4 separate regions of the Homo sapiens genome follow, and all the other regions are linked to region 4. The links are contacts of gene promoters, found by promoter capture Hi-C in blood cells and fetal thymus (Javierre and others, 2016). All regions are on one chromosome and are shown on one strand. Each heading gives the region's core, a stretch centred on a gene start or on the middle of the fragment in contact. The rest is flanking DNA. Distances are from core to core; before and after follow the strand shown. Region 1 has its middle 4.8 kb from the start of HDDC3. Region 2 overlaps IQGAP1 (IQ motif containing GTPase activating protein 1). Region 3 overlaps CRTC3 (CREB regulated transcription coactivator 3). Region 4 holds the start of CRTC3-AS1 (CRTC3 antisense RNA 1).

Region 1 (2,700 bases), core at 169-2,668, 210 kb before region 4:
ATTTTTTGTTGTTTTTGTGGCAAGAACATTTTGGGTTAATTTTTGTATATGGTGTAATTTTTTTGTATATACACCATATACAAAATATATGATGTATGGTTTTGCTTGTGGATGTCCAGTTTTCCTAGCACCATTTGATGCAAGGTCTGTCCTCTTAGTACCTGTTTTTGGATTTTTTTATTTTTTATTTTTTAGTAGAGATGGCGTTCCACTAAGTTGGCCACACTGGTCTCGAACTCCTGACCTCAGGTGATCTGCCCACCTCAGCCTCCCAAAGTGCTGGGATTACAGGCGTGAGCCACTGTGCCCAGCCTTGAATAACTCTTCACAATATTGCTTTCTAGAATTTTAGTTCCTGCCTCTTTTTAAACTATAAACTAGTATTACATTTATAGCCAGTATTTAGGTGTACCCTCCCTCTCATTAGTTTATGCCCCTAGACAAATTCTCTTTTTGCTTAAGTACACCTACTTTCTTCCACTAAAGTTTTGTACATTGCAAACTGTTGAGTCTTTGCATGTCTGAAAATGTCTTCATTTCCCCCGTGCTCTTGAATGGTGTAGCTGATAGCAAATTCAAGGCTGAGTTTTCTCTAGGTTTGAATGGACTCCAGGTGTCTACTGTAGCTAACTAGATGTCTGCTATCACTGTGATTGTCTTTCCTTTGTAAGACTTTTCTATTTTTTTTTTTTTGAACAGCATCTCCAATTTGCATTCATAAAATTATTAATCCAAATTGCGAAAGTAGACTTTTACAGAGTCACAGGTCAGTAACAAAACAGGAAATGAAATGTTCCAGAGCCTTTTTTTTTTTTTAAGATGGATTCTCGCTCTGTCACCCAGGCTGGAGTACAGTGGCGCAATCTCGGCTCACTGCAACCTCTGCCTCCTGGGTTCAAGCGATTCTTATGCCACAGCCTCCCTAGTAGCTGGGATTACAGATGTGTGCCACCACGCCCGGCTAATTTTTGTATTTCTAGTAGAGACAGGGTTTCACCATGCTGGCCAGGCTGGTCTCAAACTCCTGACCTCAAGTTATCCGCCTGCCTTGGCCTCCCAAAGTGCTGGGATTACAGGCATGAAGCCATCGTGCCCGGCCTCCAGAGACATTTTGATAAGTTCCAAAGAAACACACTAGGCAGGCTGGGTGCAGAGGCTCACGCCTGTAATCCCAGCAATTTGGGAGGCCCAGGCGGGTGGATCACGAAGTCAGGAGATCGAGACCATCCTGGCTAACATGGTGAAACCCCGTCTCTACTAAAAATACAAAAAAATTAGCCGGGCATGGTGGCGGGCACCTGTAGTCCCAGCTACTCGGGAGGCTGAGGCAGGAGAATCACTTGAACCCAGGAGGCGGAGGTTGCAGTGAGCCAAGGTCATGCCACTGCACTCCAGCCTGGGAGACAGAGCAAGACTCCGTCTCAAAAAAAAAAAAAAAAAAAAAGGCCAGTGTGGTGGCTCACGCCTGTAATCCCAACACTTTGGGAGGCCGAGGCGGGTGGATCATGAGGTCAGGAGATCAAGACCATCCTGGCTAACACGGTGAAACCCTGTCTCTACTAAAACTACAAAAAATTAGCCAGGCGTGGTGGCGGGCGCCTTTAGTCCCAGCTACTTGGGAGGCTGAGGCAGGAGAATCACTTGAACCTGGGAGGCAGAGGTTGCAGTGAGCCGAGATCACGCCACTGCACTCCAGCTTGGGCGACAGAGCTAGACTCCGTCTCAAAAAAAAAAAAAAAAAAAAAAAAGCTAGGCTAAAAATCTACAGTTAAACCATGGTTGTACAACAGGTTATATTCATTCCTGCAGTTTCTCAATAAGTTCTTATATTTGCCTTTCTCTTTTGAGAGTGAATCCCACTCACTCTATTGCCAAGGCTGGAGTGCAGTGGCATGATCTCAGCTAACTGCAACCTCCACCTCCCTGGTTTAAGCTATTCTTCTGCCTCAGCCTCCTGAGTAGCTTTGACTACAGGCGCATGCCACCAGCCCAGCTAATTTTTGTATTTTTAGTACAGACAGGGTTTTGCCATGTGGGCCAGGCCGATCTCAAACTCCTGACCTCAGGTGATCCACCCACCTTGGCCTCCCAAAGTGCTGGAATTACAGGCGTGAGCCACCGTGCCTGGCCTTTAGGTTTTATCTTACGTAATTTGCAATATATCTACACGAGGTTTTTTAAATTGTTTTAATTTTTTTGAGACGGAGTCGTGCTCTGTCGCTCAGGATGAAGTGCAGTGGCATGATCTTGGCTATTTGCAACCTCCATCTCCCAGGTTCAAGCGATTCTTCTGCCTCAGCCTTCCAAGTAGCTGGGATTACAGGCTATAGGCACACACCAGCATGCCCCGCTACATTTTGATTTTTCTGGTTTTTGGGTTTTTTTGTATTTTTAGTAGAGACAGGGTTTCACCACGTTGGCCAGGCTAGTCTCAAACTCCTGACCTCAAGTGATCTGCCCACGTTGGCCTCCCAAAGTACTGGGATTATAGACATGAGCCACTGCACCTGGCCTGTTTATTTATTTATTTGTTTGTTTGTTGTTGTTGTTGTTGTTTTGAGACGGAGTCTCACTCTGTCGCCCAGGCTGGAGTGCAGTGGCGCGATCTCGGCTCACTAAAACCTCTGCCTCCGGGTTCATGCCATTCTCCTGCCTCAGCCTCCCAAGTAGCTGAGACTACAGGCGCCCGCCACCATGCCC
Region 2 (2,700 bases), core at 36-2,535, 230 kb after region 4:
TGTATCTGCAATTTTTTTAAAAAAACACAAGCTGGCAGTATGTATCTGCGTTTAAAATGATCTTTTCCTCTGACTCCAGTTCCTTATAGATATTGATCACATCTGGGCTTTTGTTGTTGTTGTTGTTTTCTCTCTTATGAAACTATCAGGATCACATCTATTTTATTTCTCAATGTATATCCAGAGTTTGGTATAGTGCAAAAAATAGAGGAGGTGACAATTACAACACTTTTCTGTCACATTCCCTTTTGATCTTCCAGGCAAAAGTTAGAACTCTACCTATCAGGGACTCGATGGTGGGCACCTCGCCGAGGTCGTCCAGCAGTTCGTGGATTGGATCATTGTGCTCCGGAGCAATGGCATCCTGGTGATCCAACAGGAGCTGCAAACACCAATGATCAACTCCATTTATACATTCAACTCTTCAGCCCGTCCCTCCCTAGAATGTCTAACAATGATCTGCACAAAGAGGTTCCAACAAAGTTCCTATATTCAAAGAAACAACAAGCAAATCCTCAGCAAACTAACCCAAATAAACAATATGATATATAAGGCACCACACCAGGCTCTGTTGAATGACTTATGTTATGATATAAGAAGAGGAAATACTGGTATTCTCTTAACCTCATGGCCATAAAGGATTCAAATGTGCCCTGTTTGAGAAAGAACACTGGCTGGGTGCAGTGGCTCACGTCTGTAATTCTAGCATTTTGGGAAGCCAAGGCGGGTGGATCACCTGAGGTCAGGCGTTCAAGACCAGCCTGGACAACATGATGAAACCCTGTCTCTACTAAAAATACAAAAATTAGCTGGGCGTGCTGGTGTGTGCCTGTAATCCCAGCTACTAGGGAGGCTGATGCAGAAGAATTGCTTGAACCCAGTAGGTGGAGGTTGCAGTGAGCCAAGATTGCGCCATTGCACTCCAGCCTGAGTGACAGAGCAAGACTCCATCTCAAAAAAACAAAACAAAACAAACAAACACAAAAAACCCACAAAACACTGAAACTCAAAGTTCAATACCCAAAGTCATCAATGTACCCTACTGCCAGTTCAAATAAGTCACGTGCACGCTTTTACTTAATGTTTCCAGTGTATGACATGATTTAATTCAGAGAAAAGTATACCAAATCAATGTTATAATTATTGTAGGGGCACTCAACAAAGTCTTCAAGGTGCCATTATCCCCAGTGATGCCCTCAGAAATGACAGTAACCTGAAATTTCATTTACATTTTAACATATGCCCTTGTTCCTGTTTTACATGTCCATGTCCCCAGAGGGGAAAAAATGATTTGAAAAATCTGAAGAAACATGGAGCTCCAGCTTCCAAGGGAAAAATCCACTCCAAGGCTACACAGAGAAAGCTAGTATTCTAGATCATGTTAGAAAAATAACGCAGAGAGCTAGGGTAAAAAGAAAGAAGAGTAAAAGCACTATTTTATTAAGGCAATAGATAAATTTAGTGGGATTTTGATTCAGTAGGCCTGGGGCGGTGTCCAGGAAACTTCATTTTTAACTATCAGCCCATAGGATTCTGATGCAGGTGGCCTGGGAAGACCTTTTAGAAACTTAGCAGTAGATACTGTTAAGAATAACAAGCAAAAGGCCAGGCGTGGTGGCTCACGCCTGTAATCCCAGCACTTTTGGGGGCCGAGGTGGGCAGATCATGAGGTCAGGATATCGACACCATGCTGGCTAACACAGTGAAACCCCGTCTCTACCAAAAATTCAAAAAATTTAGCCAGGCACGGTGGCGGGTGCCTGTAGTCCCAGCTACTCGGGAGGCTGAGGCAGGAGAATGGTGTGAACCCAGGAGGTGGAGCTTGCAGTGAGCCGAGATCGCGCCACTGCACTCCAGCCTGGGCAACACAGTGAGACTCTGTCTCAAAAAATAAATAAATAAACAAAAAAGAATAACAAGCAAAAAAAGAGACATCAAGGAGATGCATTGTCAGTTAGATTACAGGAAGGTTAGACACCTGGCTACCAGAGATGATAAGCAGCAGCCAGGGATAATAATTAAGGACAATGAAATTAAGTAATTAAAGAAAAATACTTACAGTGTGGGTGTTGATGATTTCACCAATGGAAATGTAGATTACTGGTTTGGTGAGGGTTACTAAATCAGAGTACTCATCCACATTAAATTTATCCTGAAGCTCTGGGACATCACAAGCAGTTTGGAAAAACCGTCTGAAATAAGCACAGGAGGCAGCCCCCCAAAAAGGGACATACACATGAAGTTGGCAAGAGGACATTTCACAAACCTCTCACACAATGAGTGCAAACAGAAGCCAGTCAACAGTTACTTCAAGAGAAAGTGCTGTGTGTTTGCTGTGCTTGACAACCTTGGGATAGTGGTTCGAATAACTTCTTTCTCCACCTAGTTTGTAGTTTTAGTTTTACCCATAAGAACCATTGCACCATGACTTAAAAGTTTCCAGACACCATTAGGAGAACCAATTCTATCTCTAAGACAGTGCTCTGAAGCACTGAATTCAAAACTAGATGTTAATTTACAAAAATTAAAAGCATTCTCCAATTCTTCTCTGATTACAAGGTAACATGTACTAAATGCATAATCATCATTATTTTTATGTTAACTACTATCTATTTCATAAGTGTTAACTACTATCTATTTCATATGAAAATTCTCTTCAAAGTAAATGGATCATCTTCTGGAATCCTGGGCACATCAAAC
Region 3 (2,831 bases), core at 17-2,516, 160 kb after region 4:
TGGCTTTCTGACCTTTTGGCTCCTGCTTGCGGCTGGTCTGGCTTGCCCCCTCCAGTGTCAACTGACCCCCCTCTTCCATCCAGGCTGTTGCCTCCCAACTCTGGCCTTTCTTAACCAAGTTCCAGGGTGAGACTCTCAGTTCAGGCGAGTTAAGACTCACCCAAGGAGAGACTTCCTAGGTAGTCAAGGGAAGGAAAGTTTGATTTGGACTAAAAGTAGTAAAAAGATTTCTCAGGTGGCCGGGGGAGTGAATAAGCAGAATATATTCTAAGACGAGAAACCAAACAAAAGTGGTACTAAACTGGGCATACGATGGTTCCAGGGGACTAGAAAACGGCATCTATCCAGACTGAGAAAAACAAAGCATAAAACACGTTTCCTAGGTAAAAACAAATTGGTTTTGTGTGTCTACACTTGCTTAATTTGCAAAATAAGAGCAAAGGCCCGAGAAAGATAAACCTGGGTTTGAGTCCTGACTGTCACTTGCCACTTGTGTGACCTTGGGCATGTTACTGTTTAAGCATCAGTAAAATGGGGATGATAATGCCTATCTCAGAAGGTTGATGTGGGAACTCAATGATATCAGGTACACAAAGCATAGCTCAGGTACTCAGTAACTGTTCGTGTTCTTCTCCTCACCACTCTTAAACTTCTGTCATATGTCTGTGGGGAAGTGTTTTCCCTTGCACTCAAGAAAACTAGCATAAAAGAAAGTGGTTACCCTGGTGACTTCCTCCAAAGAGGTTACAGGAGAAAATGGGGAGGGGAGAGCTTTCTCAAGTCACATCCCCAAGAGGCTGGCGGTAGAGACAGAAAAGAGCTAAGACATTAGCTATCTGTTGTCGAGGCAGCCAACTGCTTATAGCCAGGGAGTTCCTTGAGGCACTGACTATTGCCTTTGAGCAGGGAAATAATTACAATGTCTGGCATCAAGGCCTGTGTAGAATCTTCCACAGATGTTATTCTGTCTCTTGGAAAATATCCACAGTAATAATAAACAACTAAAGCTTCATTTTAAGTTTAAAGTATAAAAACTAGCTGTTTCATAACATAGGGACCAATTCTAACTCCTGACTATTGTGAAATTTTGTAGGGAATTGGAACAAAACTTTGGCTGGTTCTACAGCCAAAACATGTAGGGACTTAAAATTCTAGTTAGAGATAATCACTACTTTAAATGTAGTGCCTCTTCTCCCTCTTTTGTGAGCTGGCAGTCAGAGGCTGGATTAAGGAGATAGGTAAGAGGATTGCTTCATACTAATATGATTGAATTTAACACAGATTCAAAATGCGAGGGAATATAGAGACCTAGCTTCTTTCCTGGTCCTACACTGCCACCGCCCACATGTGCCTTCTCTGTGGGTATTCTTTCTGCCTCTCTTGAAAGCTGCACTGAGTCAAGGCACTAACATACAGCCTGGTTGACTTCAGGACAGGCCGATTAAGACTTCAGCAAAAGTATTTTTATCTAGTCTGTGAAGAATTAGTAGGATGCAACTAGCCTGTATGACATTTAAGAAGCTTCATATAATGAACAGCAAAAGCTTAGTTCTCTAGGCCTAGGTAGGATACCTGCAAAGAAAGAGGCAAATGGTACCAACAATCTATTGAAGTCAAATTAGAAGGCTGCAACAGGGAGTTTATACTAGGAACTTTGCAATATGTATTGAACAACAACTGTGCTGGGCATTATTCTAAGGATTTACATGCATTACCTAACTTAATCCTCCCAATAGCTCTATCTTAGGTACTATTAGTAGCCACATCTTGCAGATGAGTGAGCTGAGACACAGAGAGACTAACGATCTTGTCTACGATCCAGTGCTAGTTAGTGGTGGAAGTGGTCACCAGATCCCCACTCTAGGGACTGCACTTGTGACCATCAACATGAAAATTTTGTTTATTTTGACATATTGGATGGCAGGTCATAGAGACTTATGACAGAGACTTACTAAATTGCTTGATCAAGAAAAGGGCTTGTATGGTATTAAATTTTGTTGACCAATTTTGTTGAACCCCCCAAGCGGCTTACAAGACAGTTCTTATGTGAGACATCTCCACAAACTAAACCTGAACCTGCAGGGTGCAATCAGGAGCCTTGGTAATTCATTCCAGGACTTTTATTGTTCAGACTCAAACAGGACCTGCAGCTCCAGCAGGCAGCATCTGGGCGCTGCTCTCATTCCCTATTGTTCTGACAGCCAGACCTTTGAGGATCTGCAGAGCTGGTGGCCTGATAGGAAGTCACACGATTTCAGAAGAGCCTGCCAGGTTTTGACCATATGAATTATGTGTCTAGTTTCTGAGGCTGCCTCTGGAGTTAACCCCACAGGGGATATCTGAAGTATTCATCGTCTGCCCCAATCATGCTGCGTAGCTGAGGAGGGTGGAGTAAGCTAAAAGCGAATTCTGCCCACAGGGAAGACAACGGATGCCTGGTAACTTGGAGCTAAGCCCACAAATTCCAGAACTCTTTTGAAATTTCTGATTATGTGGCCAAAGTCTGGGAAATGTTTGGGTCTACTTGGCTCTGAGAAAACACATTCTCTTTCAAGAATCTGGTAGAACCAAGGATGAGAGCCATCATCAGTGACGTAAACTGGAAGTCAGGATTTAGAGGTGTCCTGACTGAATGGACATCCCACAGAGTTCCAGCCCTCAACAAATACTAGCTGAATGAATAAATCCCTATTCTCAAGTATTTGATCAACCACCAAACCTGGAGCGCTAACTAGATGAATAAAAGAAGGTTCCAAAAAACATCATCAAACAACAAATGATGGTATGAGGAAAGCTATTTATAACATATAAGACAACATGTATCTCTAACA
Region 4 (2,700 bases), core at 179-2,678:
TATTCCCCAAACAGAATACTTTTGCCTACCCGCTTCTTCATCTTCTGATCTCTCATGCAGTCTCTCGAATTCCTGTCCCTTAATCTTGACAGTGACACACCAGTGTTATTTATCTGCATGGGTGGCACAAGGAGCTGTCAGTCACCTGCTCCATCTCACGCCATGAGGTACCTAAAGTTCTGTGTGACCTAAGGACAGGTGAGGGCTATAGGAGAAAGCCTAATGTTGTGGGACATACTTTAAAATCAGGCGCTTAGTTCAAATCCTGTATCTCTAGCACTTAATCACCAAATGCTCTTTCTGTACGGAGACAACCTCTTTGTACTTCAGATTCTCCATGTCTAAAATGGGGACAATTTCATCCGCTTCTCTGGGTAATGATAACAGAACCCTTACTGTGTACTATGTAACAGGTAGCCTTCGAAGCATTTATTATTGCATATATTAAGTCGTTTAATCCTAACAAAAACGCCAGGAAGTAGAAGAGACCATTTCCCCCATATGACAGACGAAAACCAAGACACTTAGTGTTTCAGTAACGTGCAGTAGACACAGAGCTAAATGTGAAGGAGCCAGAATTCGAACCCAAGCAATCTGATGCAGTATTCTTAAGCACTTCGCTTTGCTGGGATATCGTAAAGCTACAGTTGTAAGATCAAGGGTGCCAGGAACATGGCACACAGTAGACACTCAAAAACAAGAGTAGCCCAGCTCGTGATTATGGAAGGCCACAGAAAAAGTACAAAGTGTTTTCGTTGTTCCTCAGGAGGGACACGGAGGTAGTAGTGCCAGAGGTCTGGGCTGGGATTACTCTGTGCAGGGCATCATGTTACGCACTGGAGTATATGGGCAACAACATGCCAGGTCCTAGCCCATGCTCGGCCTCCGACGCCCCGGGAGACCTTGGCAGAGTTCGCCCCCGCCCCGGGCCTCTGTTTCCCCATTTGGGAACGTATTTATGTATCTGCTGTCCTCCCAGGATGTTGGCCAGACTAGAGGACTCAGCGGGCCGAGGCGAACCAGTGCAGGAAACGGAAGAACCCGAGCGGCCTCCAGCTCCGGGCCGGGCCGCCAGAGCAGGGCTAGATCAATGCGGACCGACCCGTAGTTACGCGCGCGGTACTCACCTCGCACGCAGACTCCTAGCGGACGGAACCAGGATCCAAACTTCCCGCGCCGCAACCACGGCCGCCGCGCCAAGCCCTGGCTCACTTCCCGCCGGAAGCTTGCCTATTCCGATTGGCTGCTTCCTGGGGAAGCCGACCAATACTGTCGCACTCGGACATCTGTTCCCGCCCCCTCAGGCTGCTGGGGCGGGGTCGCCGTACAGCGCCGGGAGGGACGCGTATCTCCAAAGCCCAATCAGAGTCCGGACGGGAGGGTCAGATGACTACGGTTACATCTCGGGCTTCCGGAGCTAGTTGGGTCTTTGTTTTTGGTGTTTTAGAGTCGGTGAAGGCTTTAAAGGAAGTAGGCAGCTGGAACCCGGCTGTGGCGGGTTGAAAAGCCCGGGCGTTTGAGAGCTGAGACTTGCCAGTTCCCACAGGCCAAGCCAGGCGTCTGCACCCCATTCTCTTGGTTCCGACGGTGTGTCTCTGCGATGTTTTGGCGGTCTCTCCTCTCCATCCCCTTAATAATACTGGTCTCTGTTTCACCCGTACCCCTCTACACGAGCAGGTGCAAATTGTCATTGAACCGGGAAAGTGGGCACACACTCAGATGCCTCCATGGACACGTGAGAAACCATGCTTCTGTTTCAGCCTATTGCTGACACGCGGGAATGTGGGCCCTGTGATGCCAGATCTTACTTTCTTTCCTTTCTTCCTCTCTTCTCCCCTCTCTACTTCCTTCCCTCTCTCCTTCCCTCCCGCCCTCCCTCCTCTTTGTGTGTGTGATAAAATCTATCTAACATAAAATTCACCATTTTTAAGTGTACAGTTCACTGGCATTAAGTACATTCACATTGTTGTGAAACCATCACCACTATCCATCTCCAGAACTTTTTCATTATCCCAAATAGAAAATCTGCCTGTTACACAGTAACTCCCCGTTACCCGTTTCTCACAACCCCTTATAGCCGATATTGCACTTTCTGTCTGTAAGTGCGAGGTACCGCATATAAATTGAATCATACAATAATTGCTCTTTTCTGATTGGCTTATTTCACTTAGCATAATGTCTTCAAGGAGCATCTATGTTGTAGCATGTATCAGAATTTCTTCCTTCTTGAGGCTAAATAATATTCCATTATACATGTATACTACATTTTGTTTATCCATTCATCCATATAAATGGATGCTTGGTTATTCCCACCTTTTGGCTATTGTGAATAATGCTGCTATGAACTTTGGTATACAAATAATCATTCTCCACATAATACGCAGAAAGAGTTTTCTAAAATGTAAAAATCTGTTCAAGTTACCTCCCTCCTGAAAATCTTCTATGGTAAATTGAAACCAAAATATGATACTATTAAACACTCCATAGAATAGCTGAAATGAAAAGACTGACAATTCCCTTAGTTGCAAAGATGCAGAAATGGGACTCTCATACAGTGTTGATGGGAGTGTAAAATGGTACAACCACTTTGGAAACATCAGTCTCTACTGAAATCAAATTTACCCCTACCCTATACCCCAGAAATCCCATTTCTAGATATTTACCCCAAAAAATGAATGCCTTTATTCACCAAAAGACTCA

Evidence for each region. The method cuts DNA at HindIII sites, captures the fragments that hold promoters and counts their contacts. A CHiCAGO score of 5 or more calls a contact.
Region 1: a contact is called between a fragment that was not itself captured here and the fragment with the promoter of CRTC3-AS1 in region 4, in 7 of 17 cell types (megakaryocytes, endothelial precursors, total B cells and 4 more). The highest score is 5.8, in megakaryocytes.
Region 2: a fragment that was not itself captured here is called in contact with the fragment with the promoter of CRTC3-AS1 in region 4 in 1 of 17 cell types (activated CD4 T cells); the score reaches 5.2 in activated CD4 T cells.
Region 3: a contact is called between a fragment that was not itself captured here and the fragment with the promoter of CRTC3-AS1 in region 4, in 7 of 17 cell types (fetal thymus, naive CD4 T cells, activated CD4 T cells and 4 more). The highest score is 9.2, in fetal thymus.

What each region holds. Positions count from the first base shown.
Region 1 is chr15:90,926,443-90,929,142 of GRCh38, reverse strand. No RefSeq gene overlaps it. Among named protein-coding and RNA genes, the nearest start is that of HDDC3, 4.8 kb to the left of the region's middle. The HindIII fragment of the contact is 3,766 bases long and covers 1-2,700 here.
Region 2 is chr15:90,483,712-90,486,411 of GRCh38, reverse strand. It overlaps IQGAP1 (IQ motif containing GTPase activating protein 1), which reads right to left. Exons shown (of 38, transcript NM_003870.4): 30 at 2,060-2,192; 31 at 280-382. Among named protein-coding and RNA genes, the nearest start is that of CRTC3, 45 kb to the left of the region's middle. The HindIII fragment of the contact is 7,118 bases long and covers 1-2,700 here.
Region 3 is chr15:90,560,047-90,562,877 of GRCh38, reverse strand. The region is part of intron 2 of CRTC3 (CREB regulated transcription coactivator 3); the gene reads right to left. Among named protein-coding and RNA genes, the nearest start is that of CRTC3, 32 kb to the right of the region's middle. The HindIII fragment of the contact is 514 bases long and covers 1,010-1,523 here.
Region 4 is chr15:90,715,868-90,718,567 of GRCh38, reverse strand. CRTC3-AS1 (CRTC3 antisense RNA 1) reads left to right here and starts at 1,428. Exons shown (of 4, transcript NR_120372.1): 1 at 1,428-1,587. It overlaps BLM (BLM RecQ like helicase), which reads right to left and starts at 1,222. Exons shown (of 22, transcript NM_000057.4): 1 at 1,128-1,222. The HindIII fragment of the contact is 2,609 bases long and covers 1,228-2,700 here.